Linked DNA regions of Homo sapiens: region 1 is linked to region 2. The links are contacts of gene promoters, found by promoter capture Hi-C in blood cells and fetal thymus (Javierre and others, 2016). All regions are on one chromosome and are shown on one strand. The core of a region is centred on a gene start or on the middle of the fragment in contact, and the rest is flanking DNA. Distances in the headings are between cores, read along the strand shown. Region 1 overlaps SFXN5 (sideroflexin 5). Region 2 holds the start of NOTO (notochord homeobox).

What was found. The method cuts DNA at HindIII sites, captures the fragments that hold promoters and counts their contacts. A CHiCAGO score of 5 or more calls a contact.
Region 1: a contact is called between a fragment that was not itself captured here and the fragment with the promoter of NOTO in region 2, in 2 of 17 cell types (naive CD8 T cells and total B cells). The highest score is 5.8, in naive CD8 T cells.

Annotation. Positions count from the first base shown.
Region 1 is chr2:72,983,151-72,988,414 of GRCh38, reverse strand. It overlaps SFXN5 (sideroflexin 5), which reads left to right. Exons shown (of 14, transcript NM_144579.3): 10 at 67-157. Among named protein-coding and RNA genes, the nearest start is that of EMX1, 68 kb to the right of the region's middle. The HindIII fragment of the contact is 2,518 bases long and covers 2,448-4,965 here.
Region 2 is chr2:73,198,473-73,204,057 of GRCh38, reverse strand. NOTO (notochord homeobox) reads right to left here and starts at 1,484. Exons shown (of 3, transcript NM_001134462.2): 1 at 1,010-1,484. The coding sequence starts at 1,391. RefSeq lists an enhancer at 90-641. The HindIII fragment of the contact is 10,291 bases long and covers 1-4,071 here.

The sequences.
Region 1 (5,264 bases), core at 2,457-4,956, 220 kb after region 2:
CCCTCCTCCCACAAGCCACTGCAGCATCATGTACTTTTTCTGTGTTTTTATTTTTTTCTTTCAAAGGTGGGCCTTAATGTCCTGGTTCAGAAAGCCAACAAGTTCACCCCAGCCACCCGCCTTCTCATCCAGAGGTTTGTGCCGTTCCCTGCTGTAGGTAAGACCTGCACACCACATAGATGTGTGCTGTGGGTGGGTGTGGGGGACCGCTGGGCTCCCAGGGAGACAGATGACCCTTCCACACCTCTCCTGATGCCCAGGGGGCACCCAGCTGGGAGAATTGGTGTAATATGTTTAGCTAAAAGACAAGACCATGGGGTCCCACTGACCAGCTCTGTGCTGAGATTCTGCTTTCAGCATAGGGGTTCTTAGGCTGCAGTCCCAGACCCCCAAGGGGTCAGTAGACAGAATGCAGCGGATCCTGTGAGCTTGGTCAGGGAAAAGATTTACATTAACCTCTAACTGCATTTTAACATTTCCTTCCGTTACGAATGCAGGCAGCAAACCACAGTCAGAAGCAGGACCTGTGACTTTGTCACCAGTAGAAATCACAGATGTTTTCATGGCACATTACAGTTGTTACAGAGGTCTTAAAATATTATTTATGCTCAACACTAATTCATATTTTCTTTCTTTTTTCTTTTTCTTTGTTTTTCTTTGAGTCAGAGTTTCACTCTTGTCACTCAGGCTGGAGTATGGTGGTGCAATCTCGGCTCACTGCAACCTCCACCTCCCAGCTTCAAGCAATTCTCCTGCCTCAGGCTCCCAAGTAGCTGGGATTACAGGCATGCGCCACCATGCCCATCTAATTTTGCATTTTTAGTAGAGATGGGGTTTCACCATGTTGGCCAGGCTGGTCTCGAACTCCTAACCTCATGATCCACCTGCCTCACCCTCCCAAAGTGCTGGGATTACAGACGTGAGCCACCATGCCCGGTCACTAATTCATATTTAATACATCAACTGATAGATCTTGTTTTTAATTCATTAGTTAAAAAGCACATCTAGGCTGGGTGTGGTAGCTCATGCCTGTAATCCCAGCACTTTGGGAGGCCGAGGTAGGCGGATCATGAGGTCAGGAGATCAAGACCATCCTTGCCAACATGGTGAAACCCCATCTCTACTAAACATAGAAAAATTAGCTGGGTGTGGTGGTGCATGCCTGTAATCCCAGCTACTCAGGCCGAGGCAGGAGAATGGCTTGAACCAGGGAGTTGGAGGTTGCAGTGAGCCAAGATCACGCACTCCAGCCTGGTGACAGAGTGAGACTCCGTCTCAAAAACAAAACAAAACAAAAAAAACCCCAAAAAACATCTATTACTATATCACAATATTTTGGTAATTTCAGGATGATCCCTTTGTGATCCTATGTGTTTTGTTTTATGCATTTAGAAACATTATTCTGAGAGGGGTCCATAGGCCTCACTAGACTACCAGAGTGGTTCGTGGTACAAAAGAAGCCTGCAAGCTTCTGCTAGTCTAGGTTTCAAGCCTTTGGGTATTGTGAGCCTCTAGGTTTCAGAGGCCTTGGCTCTACGCAGGTGATTGTGGGCGCACAGGTATATGTGGAGGGGATTTCAGCTGCGTCTTTGCTGAACTTGGAGTCTATGAGCTCACCATAGATGCCCCAGGCTGGGGCCCTGGAGATGCCACAAAACTCTGCTTGGCCCTTAAGAAGCCTACACCTTGTTTGGGGAGAAGGGCAAAATAGTGGAAGGAGTTTTTAAAACTAAAAAGAAATAAACAGTATTGAGAGCAGTGTAAGGCAGTGCATAGCTGTCAAAAGAGAAGGATAAACCAGTCCTTGAACCATAACAGCAGAGCTCCCCATCTGTGCCAAAGGACAACGATGGGGACAGGCCAGCACAGGGCATGAGGACTCGTGACCTCTGTGGTACCAAGGCACCATCTGAAGAGCTGGAGTCAGACCCAGGCTCATGGTCCTGACCCTGATCGTCATCTACAGGGCCCTGCTTCTCCATCTGTAAAAGGCGGGTACCAGTACCCACCTTCCTACAGCCCAGAGCTCTGGGAGGAGCAAGTGAGGCCACAAACCAGTTTCCACTGAGAGGAGGGTGCTTTGAAGCACCTGCAAAGCCCTGTGAGAGGGTGAGAGGTCATTGCTGGGCAGCCCCACCTCTGGATGACCCAGAGACTAATGAATTCCGAGAACCAGCCACCTGGCTCAGCCTCAGCCAGCCCAGATAATTGCTATAGCAACTCCACACTTTTAATGAACTTTCAGCTATTTCTGTCGTGGGCCATTAATGGAATAACCCTTTAGATCTGACTTCGTTAAGGGGCCTAATAAAGCAAACACGGCTGCCCAACTGGTGTTCCCGGCCATTCAGCTGCAGGGTCAGATGCAGCCTGAGAAGGGGCAGCGCTCTGCTGCACTGGGCTGGATCTGGGATTCGGCCAAGATGTAATCTGTCCCTAGCCAAGCTTTAGATAAGAACTTTGCCGGGGGCCCATTCCAGCCCTACTGGCCATCTTGCTGTGTCACCTTGAGGTGGTCTTAACCTCTCTGGGACTCTTTCAGGAGGAGAGTCCCTGCTTTGGGTCTGAGACTTTCTGACCTGCCCCTCTTCAGACTCCAGTGTAATTCCCCTCCCCTCTTCTTTTTGGGAATGAGGCTTCAGCCGCTCACACAGGTGCAGCCACTGTTGTCTTGAGATCCTGAACATCCCTCACGGGTTGCATAATGTGGTTTAAGCCCTGACAGTCCTTGCTTGCGGGATCCAGGGAGAGGCAGGCCCTTTGTGGCTTCTTCCTCTGGCCTGGCTGCTGAGTCCTGGCTGGGTACCTGCCTGCCTTCTGCCCCAGCCCCAGTCTCCCCTCCCACCCCCCCACAGGCTTCCATCTCTCTAGTCCCTATGTCCATCGCTCTCATCTGCAAGTGGACACTTGCGGACTGCCCTAGTCCATGCTGACACAGTTTTGAGATGATTAGGTGTGGCCCTTTCCCACCAGGGACTCAAAAGCCCCCTGGTCCTCTCAGGCCACCGTCCAGTCCCTGTACTTGGCCTCTCTTCACCTTATCCCCAGGTACCCCTGGCCAGAGTATCCCTAAGCTGCACCAGGTGCTGGCAGGGCCTAGGTCCTGCCCGGGGTTCACTGCAGGTCTCCGAGGTAGGCTAGGCCAGACCTGGCTGGGCCACTGTTAAAGGTGACCAAGAAGCTGGCTCAGGCTGTGCTTGACCTTGTGGAGGGTCCCCTGTCCCTTTAGGCTGCTTGCAGAGACAGGACTCACTGAGCAGTGACTGCACATGGGAAGGAGGTTGGGGAAAGTGGCAGTGATCATATTTAAGCTCTGTTGTTGGGATGTGAGTGGAGTGGAAGGGGGTCTTCAGGGTGATGGGGGTCCTGAAGAGGCTTGTGCCCTGTGGTCAGAGGCCGCATCCAGGCTCTCACACTTCTGAGCAGGTTGGGAACTCAAGCTCTGGGGAACAAGGAATCCCCAAGAGTCAGTTTCTTCTTCCCAAGGCTCTGCCAGCTCCTCTGCAGGCCCCAGCCTGAAGCCTGGGAGGTGGGCTACACACTGCCTAAGAGTGGCCTGAGACACACGCACCTGGACCCCACACCAAACTCCACCATTCCCACCCCATTCTACCCGCTGTCTCCTCATCTGGAAACGAGGCCTCTGACGAGACCCTCCTTCAGCCCCTTCCCACCAGGACCTCTGTGACTGCAGGCCTCCTTGAGGTTTGCAGAGCTCCTGGGGGCTGCACGGCTCCCCTCATATTCCCTAGCAAGCCTCTCTCCTCCCTCGGTTCTCCTCATTCTGTGCTGGGAGGGTCCGAAGGCAGAGCAAGCCATCACCCTCTTACAGAAGAATGAACAAAGTCAGACTTGCTAAAAGTGATACTGAGCTGGCCAGAGCCCAGGCCTCCCAGGCCTCCCAGGCCCAGCCCAGGGCTATTTCAAGCCCTGTGAGATAACCCCTCACCCATATAGCTGAGAAACTGAGCAGTGTGGCCTGGAGGCAGCCAAGGCTACGCGGTGTCCTCCCTGTTCTGCCTCCAAGTTCCCCCCTAGTTTTTCAGAGTGTGTGTGTGCACACGCCTGTGTCACGTGACTGATGCATGTGCAGGCACATGTGCTGAGTATGTGGGAAGCCCTGGGATGCTCACTGCAGCCATTTCTCTCCCCTTGGAGAGAGGTGGTTTCAGGGCCATGCTGTGTCCCTGGTCTAGAACAGCAATCGTGTGGGAGATCTCAGTTTCTATTTATACATGGAGATGTTAGGAAAGACAGTGAGCCCAGGAGCATGTGTGCTGGCATCGGAATCGATTGGGGACTGGTAATTAATTTGCTTAGACCTTAATTAATTCTCCAGTTCTTTCTTATTTGTGGACTGTCACGCCTAATTGTGTTCAGGAGCTCAAGCTCGGAGCGGGCCCTCCGTTAATTGACGTATGGTTGCTGCCAGGTGAAGTTAATGGTTTGGGAAGCTGGGCAAACAGTGTAATTAAAGGTCAGTAGAGGAGGCATTGGAAAAATACACACCCCCAGCTCTAGCCACCAGTCTCTGTGAGCAGAGTCTGTTCCAGGGGTTGCCGGCCCCACAGGCTTCTCAAGGGGCCTTGGAGGAGGGGTACCAGGAGCAGTTACCAGCAGGAAGGAGGGCCAAGTCCTGGGTCCCAGAGGTGGCAGTGGCCAGGGGAATAGACATCTCGTTGACAGCAATGGGTGGGGCAGGGGCCTTAGGGAGGTGGAGACAGAGGTGTTGTCTCAGCAAGCACATCTATAAAGCTGGCCCTCTGGACTCCGGGTAGGTGTGTGCATGGGGAGGGCAGGAAGCCCTGAAGGTCACCCCAGGCTGCCTGGCTGCATCCACTCAGAGCAGGGAACAGGCAGTGAGTGTCATGTGCTCATCAAGACCCCCAGCTAGGCCCTGAGCTCCTCATGAGGAAGGCCTGAGCTTTGGCATCAGCCAGCTGCTCCTTCCAAGGAGAACAAGCTTCCTGCAGGCACCGGAAATGCCAGCCTCAGCAGCTCCTTGCTGAGAAATGACTTCTTCCTGTGCCGTCCCCAGCAGTCTCCTATGTTAAATGTCAGGATTTATTTTATTGCCATGAAAAGATCTCGGTGTTAACCAATGAGTCCGTTGCCCAGGGTGTCCTGGCACTATTTGGGAGAAGGTCTTCTGTTCATTCACAGGTGTGGCAAACCTGTTCCCTGACGTCCATGCCCCCTTCTCCCCAAGGCCACACGGGTCTTCATGTCATTGAACCCCTCTTTGCTCCACTGCTCCCCCTTTG
Region 2 (5,585 bases), core at 235-2,734:
GCGCGATCTCGACTCACTGCAAGCTCCGCCTCCCGGGTTCACGCCATTCTCCTGCCTCAGCCTCCTGTGTAGCTGGGACTACAGGCACGCGCCACCATGCCCGGCTAATTTTTGTATTTTTAGTAGAGACGGGGTTTCACCGTGTTAGCCAGGATGGTCTCGATCTCCTGACCTCGTGATCCGCCCGTCTCGGCCTCCCAAAGTGCTGGGATTACAGGCGTGAGCCACCGCGCCCGGCCAATTTTTTGTCTTTTAAGTAAAGATGTGGTTTCACCATGTTGGCCAGGCTGGCCTTGAACTCCTGACTTCAGGTGATCCACCCGCCTCGGTCTTCCAAAGTGCTGAAATTACAGGCGTGAGCCACCGCGCCCAACCTTACAATTACTTTCTCATGAGATTTAAGTGCCTGGCCCTTAAGCACTACTTAAGAGCATTGCATGCACGCAGGCTCAGAGCGAAGTGTGTAGCTCAAGTTCACAGACGTGAGCAGTGGAGGCGGTAGTGGGGTGTGAGCCTTGACCAGCTCCTAACAGCTCCTCGCTCAACAGCACCGCCCGGAGCGTCCACTTCCCCCTACCCCGTAAAAAAAAAAAACAGGGCCATTGGTTCGGGTCGAGAGCCGCTTTGGGAAGCGTCTCTGTCACTAAGCGCTACCCCGGGGTGTGCGAGGGAGTCAAGGGACGCGGAGACCGGGAGCAGGGCTGGGTCCCCTTGCAGCCCCAGCGCTGGCCTCCTGCCCACCGCATTCAGGCGCTGCGCCGCCCTCACACCCACCCTCTCCCACCTCAGCAGCGTGCGGGGGAAGCCTCGCGCCGGGGTCTTTTTCAGCAAGACTGTCGCGGTCCTCGGCTTCAACTGCAAGGTAAACGGTGGCAGAGCCCCTTCCCACTCCAGCCGTGTGTGATTCTCACACTCAGTGCCCTCTCCTGCACTGGGGCGCCGGCAGTGGCGACCTAGGCTCTCCAGCCCCCGCCCAGTCCCCCGCGTGCGGGCGCCGGGACCGCAGTACCTGTGACGCCGAAGCCCAGCAGGCCGCAGACGGGAGCCACGCGCGGCCCTGGCACAGGGTAAAAACCTACGCTCAGGTAGGCGGGCAGCCACGATGTCGGGCAAGCCCAGGGCAGACCCCCGGTGGCGCACAGGGAAGCAGCGGTCCAGAAGGCCGGGTGGACGCAGGCGGAGCCCGACGGCTGGGAGGCCGCCGGCGCGCAGGGGTCGGGCCTCGCCAGGATGGCCTCGACCGAGAAAGGGGACTCGAAGCGTCCGGGAGCGCGGGGCGTGTTCGGGCCAGTAGGGGACCTGGGCGCCGGAGAGCGGCCAGAGCGCGGAGGTCGGACCCGAGAGCCCGAGGGAGCGGGTGGCGGGCTGCCTCGCGGCCTGGGGCTAGGCATGACGCGGCCGTTGCCCGGACGGACGCAAGGAAGGGAGCTCGGGAGAAGTGAGAAGATTCTGCAAAAGGCAGCGAGCAAGACCGGTTGTCTGGGAACCTCCTGGCGCTCGGCGAAGGCTCTTAAATTTGGCGGGGCGGGGCATGGGGCGGCCTCTCCCCACTGCGGTCCGGGCGGGGCCCCCAAAGCCTGTGAGCGCCCGCTCTGTGCGAGGCAAGGTGGGCACAGCACCAAAGAGTGTGTTCCCTCCCTTCCTCCGCTTTTAAAAATGCCCACCCTGGGGCGGTCGTGGGGAGGACTCTGAGCTCGCTGGTGATCCTGGGCGAAACACCCAGCCACCGGGCTCCGTCTTTCTCCTTTGCTCACTGAAGAAGGGATGCCCGTTTCCCCGGGGCCTTGCAGAGGCGGAGCTGTGATCTGGAGAGCGGTAGGGCAGTGCCTGCGGTCTTGGCCTCAGCTGACCCGCGCCGTCCTTGACGCAGAAGCCTCGGCCAGATTCACCTAGGACCGCGCGGACTTTTTGTTTGTTTGTTTTAAAATGTAAATATTTTATTTATAAGCACAGTGATAAGTACATTTTCCATCTGGCCTCAGCCCTTTAGTTTCCCTGCCTTGAGATGCGCTGTGATTACCAATTTCGTTCTTTCTTTAATATTTTTTTTGGCCAGGTGCAGTGGCTCATGCCTGGCATCCCAGTACTTGTGTGGGAGGCCGAGGCGGGAGGATCGCTTGAGCTCAGGATTTGATTTGATTTGATTTGAGTTGATTTAGGGGTAAAAGATATGGCCACTATGTCTCTAACCTTGGACTTTTAGTATATAATTCTGTGTTTCCATACATAATTATCAGTTTTCTGTTGTGTCATTTATTCCTTCTTCAGACTGTAAATTCCTGAGCATAAGCATTAATATCTCCAATTTACATATTAGTAAATACAGCAAGAGAGGTTAACAGAACTGCCTTGTTTCAAATCCCCTAGGTATGTGGTTTTAATTTGCATTTATTTCCCTGAAGACCGTTCATTGTGAGCATCTTTTTACATGCTTATCAGCCACTTGGATATCCTCTTTTGTGTGAAGTGCCTGTTCAACTGGTTTGCTTATTTTTGTATTGGGTCACTATGTTTTTCTTATTGTAAGAGTTTTATGTATAGATAATTTGGAATCAAGTCCTTCGTTGTAATATACATAGAAGCAGATAACCTCTGTCACTCTGTGGCCTGCCTTTTCATTCTTTTAGTAGTCCTTTTTTTTTTTTTTTCTGAGATGGAGTTGCCCAGGCTAGAGTGCAGTGGCACAATCTTGGCTCACTGCAACCTTTGCCTCCCAGGTTCCAGCGATTTTCCTGCTTCAGTAGCTGGGATTACAGGCATGTGCCACCACACCCAGCTAATTTTTGTTAAGTATACCAAAAATAAAGCCAAACGAATAACAGACTTTATTTTTATTCATTTATTTATTTATTTAGAGATGGAGTTTCACTCTTGTTGCCCAGGCTGGAGTGCAATGGCACTCGGCTCACTGCAACCTCTGCCTCCTGGGTTCAAGCGATTCTCCTGCCCCAGCCTCCTGAGTAGCTGGGATTACAGGCACCCGCCACCATGCCCAGCTAATTTTTTGTATTTTTAGTAGAGATGGGGTTTCACCATGTTGTCCAGGCTGGTCTTGAACTCCTGACCTCAGGTGATCCACCCGCCTTGGCCTCCCAAAGTGCTGGGATTACAGGCGTAAGCCACCGCACCCAGCCCTACAACAGACTTTAAAAAGACCACTGAGATGGGTTAGTACATGAACTAGGCACTTTATAAAAGGAAATATCTGAATAGCTTAAAACCATATGTGGCTGGGCGCGGTGGCCCATGCCTGTAATCCCAGCACTTTGGGAGGCCAAGGCGGGCAGATCACTTGAGGTCAGGAGTTTGAGACCAGCCTGGCTAACATGGTGAAACCCCATCTCTACTAAAAATACAAAAACTAGCTGGGTGTTGTGGTGGGTGCCTGTAATCTCAGCTACTCGGAGGCTGAGGCAGGAGAATTGCTTGAACCTGGGAGGCGGAGGTTGCAGTGAGCCAAGACTGCACCACTGCACTCCAGCCTGGGCGAAAGAGCGAGACTCTGTCTCAAAAAAAAAAAAAGTATGAAACATACTGAACTCTGTGAGTCATCAGGGAAATGCAAATTCAAATCACATCGTGATCCACTATACACGCACCAGAAGATGGAAAATACCAAGGGCTGGCTGGGCACGGTGGCTCACACCTGTAAATCCCAGCACTTTAGGAGGCCAAGGCAGGTGTGAGGCTGAGGCGGGTGGATCACTTGAGGTCAGGAGTTCGAGACCAGCCTGACCAACATCGTGAAACCCCATCTCTACTAAAAATACAAAATTAGCCAGGTGTGGTGGTGCACACCTATAATCCCAGCTACCTGGGAGGCTGAGTCAGGAGAATCGCTTGAGCCTGGGAGGCGGAGGTTGTAGTGAGCCATTGCACTCCAGCCTGGGCAACAAGAGCAAAACTCTGTCTCAAAAAAAAAAAAAAAAAGAAAAAGAAAAAGAAAAAGAAAAAGAAAATACCGAGGGTTGATGATAATATGAAGCATCTGGAACTCTTATCCACTGAGTGTGGGCATATAAATTGGTAGAAACACTTTCGAAAAATGGATAAGCAGTATTTACTTAAGCTTAACCCTCTGATCCAGCAGTTCCTATCCTAGGTATAGTGTATACCCAACACAAATATACATATGTGTTTAACAAGAGACATGTTTCAGAATGTTCACAGCAGCATTATTTGCAATAGCCCCAAATCAGAAACTACCAGAATGTCTACCAACAGTAGAATAAAGTTGCGCCACTGCACTCCAGCCTGGGTGACAGAGTGAGACTCTTGTCTCAAAAAAATAAAAAAATAAAAAAACAAGGCAAACTTATCTATGCTACTAGAAGTCAGGAGAATGCTTGGGGGTGGTTAATGAGTGGCAAAGGGCATGACGGGAACTTCTGTGGTGGTAGCAGTGTTCTATTTATTTTCTTTTTTTTTGAGATTGAATTTCACTATTGTTGCCCAGACTGGAGTGCAGTAGCATGATCTTGGCTCATTGCAACCTCTGCCTCCCAGTTCAAACGATTCTCCTGCCTCAGCCTCCCAAGTAGCTGGGATTACAGGCATGTGCCACCATGCCGAGCAAATTTTGTATTTTTAATAGAGACAGGGTTTCACCATGTTGGTCAGGCTGGCTGGTCTCAAACTCCTGACCTTGGGTGATCCACCCGCCTCAGCCTCCCAAAGTGCTGGGATTACAGATGTGAGCCACCGTGCCCGGCCAGTGTTCTATTTCTTCATCTGGATGCTGGTTACACAGATCTTTATACTTTGTGAAAATTCAGTGCCCACTTGTTCCTGGTCTGGACCATTATCAGTCCTTCCTTTATTTAGTTGTAGTTTTGCTATTGATTTTAATCACAGGATATGGAAATACCATGTTGTTCCCATTATCCCCCTGACAGTCAGGATCAGTCACCCAGAGAGTCTGATAATACTCTTCAGTGCCTATTGATTCACTGGTGAGAGAAGCCCAAGTAGCCAGCGACAGTCTTAACTGCCAGTTCAGTGAAACCACTGCTGTGTCTCATGTGGAAATAGTTCACTCTTGGGAACTCTAGTATCTCTAGATCAGCAGAGCACAAAGTTACCGAGATAGGAAGCAAAAATTTTGCTAGAGAAACACTATGTGTTATATTGAGGAGATCTGTTCTCATTTCTACCCTCTGACCCACAAATCCTGGTTTGGGATTTCTCCCAGCACCATATGTTGGTTGCCGGTTTAGAGCACATCTTGCATCTGAAGGACATTACCCATGCCCTGCAACATGTTACTATCCAGCTAGTGCCATAATTAAGTCTTCAAAAGGTCATCCTACTGTTCTTTCAAGCCAGCTGCTTCAGGGTAATGGTAAGACCAGTGAATACCATGAGCCTGAGCCCATTGCTGTTCTTTACTTGCTGTGAAATAATTCTTTTGTCAGAAGCAATGCTATATGGAATGCCAAAGCATTCTATAAGTTCAGAGATGTTGATTTTGGCAGAAGCATTGTGGGCAGAGAAAGCAAATCTATGTCACAGTAAATGGATATTCCAGTAAGAACAAAGTAATGCCCCTATGTGATTACCCTGGCACTAGGTGGCTAGTTGGTTTT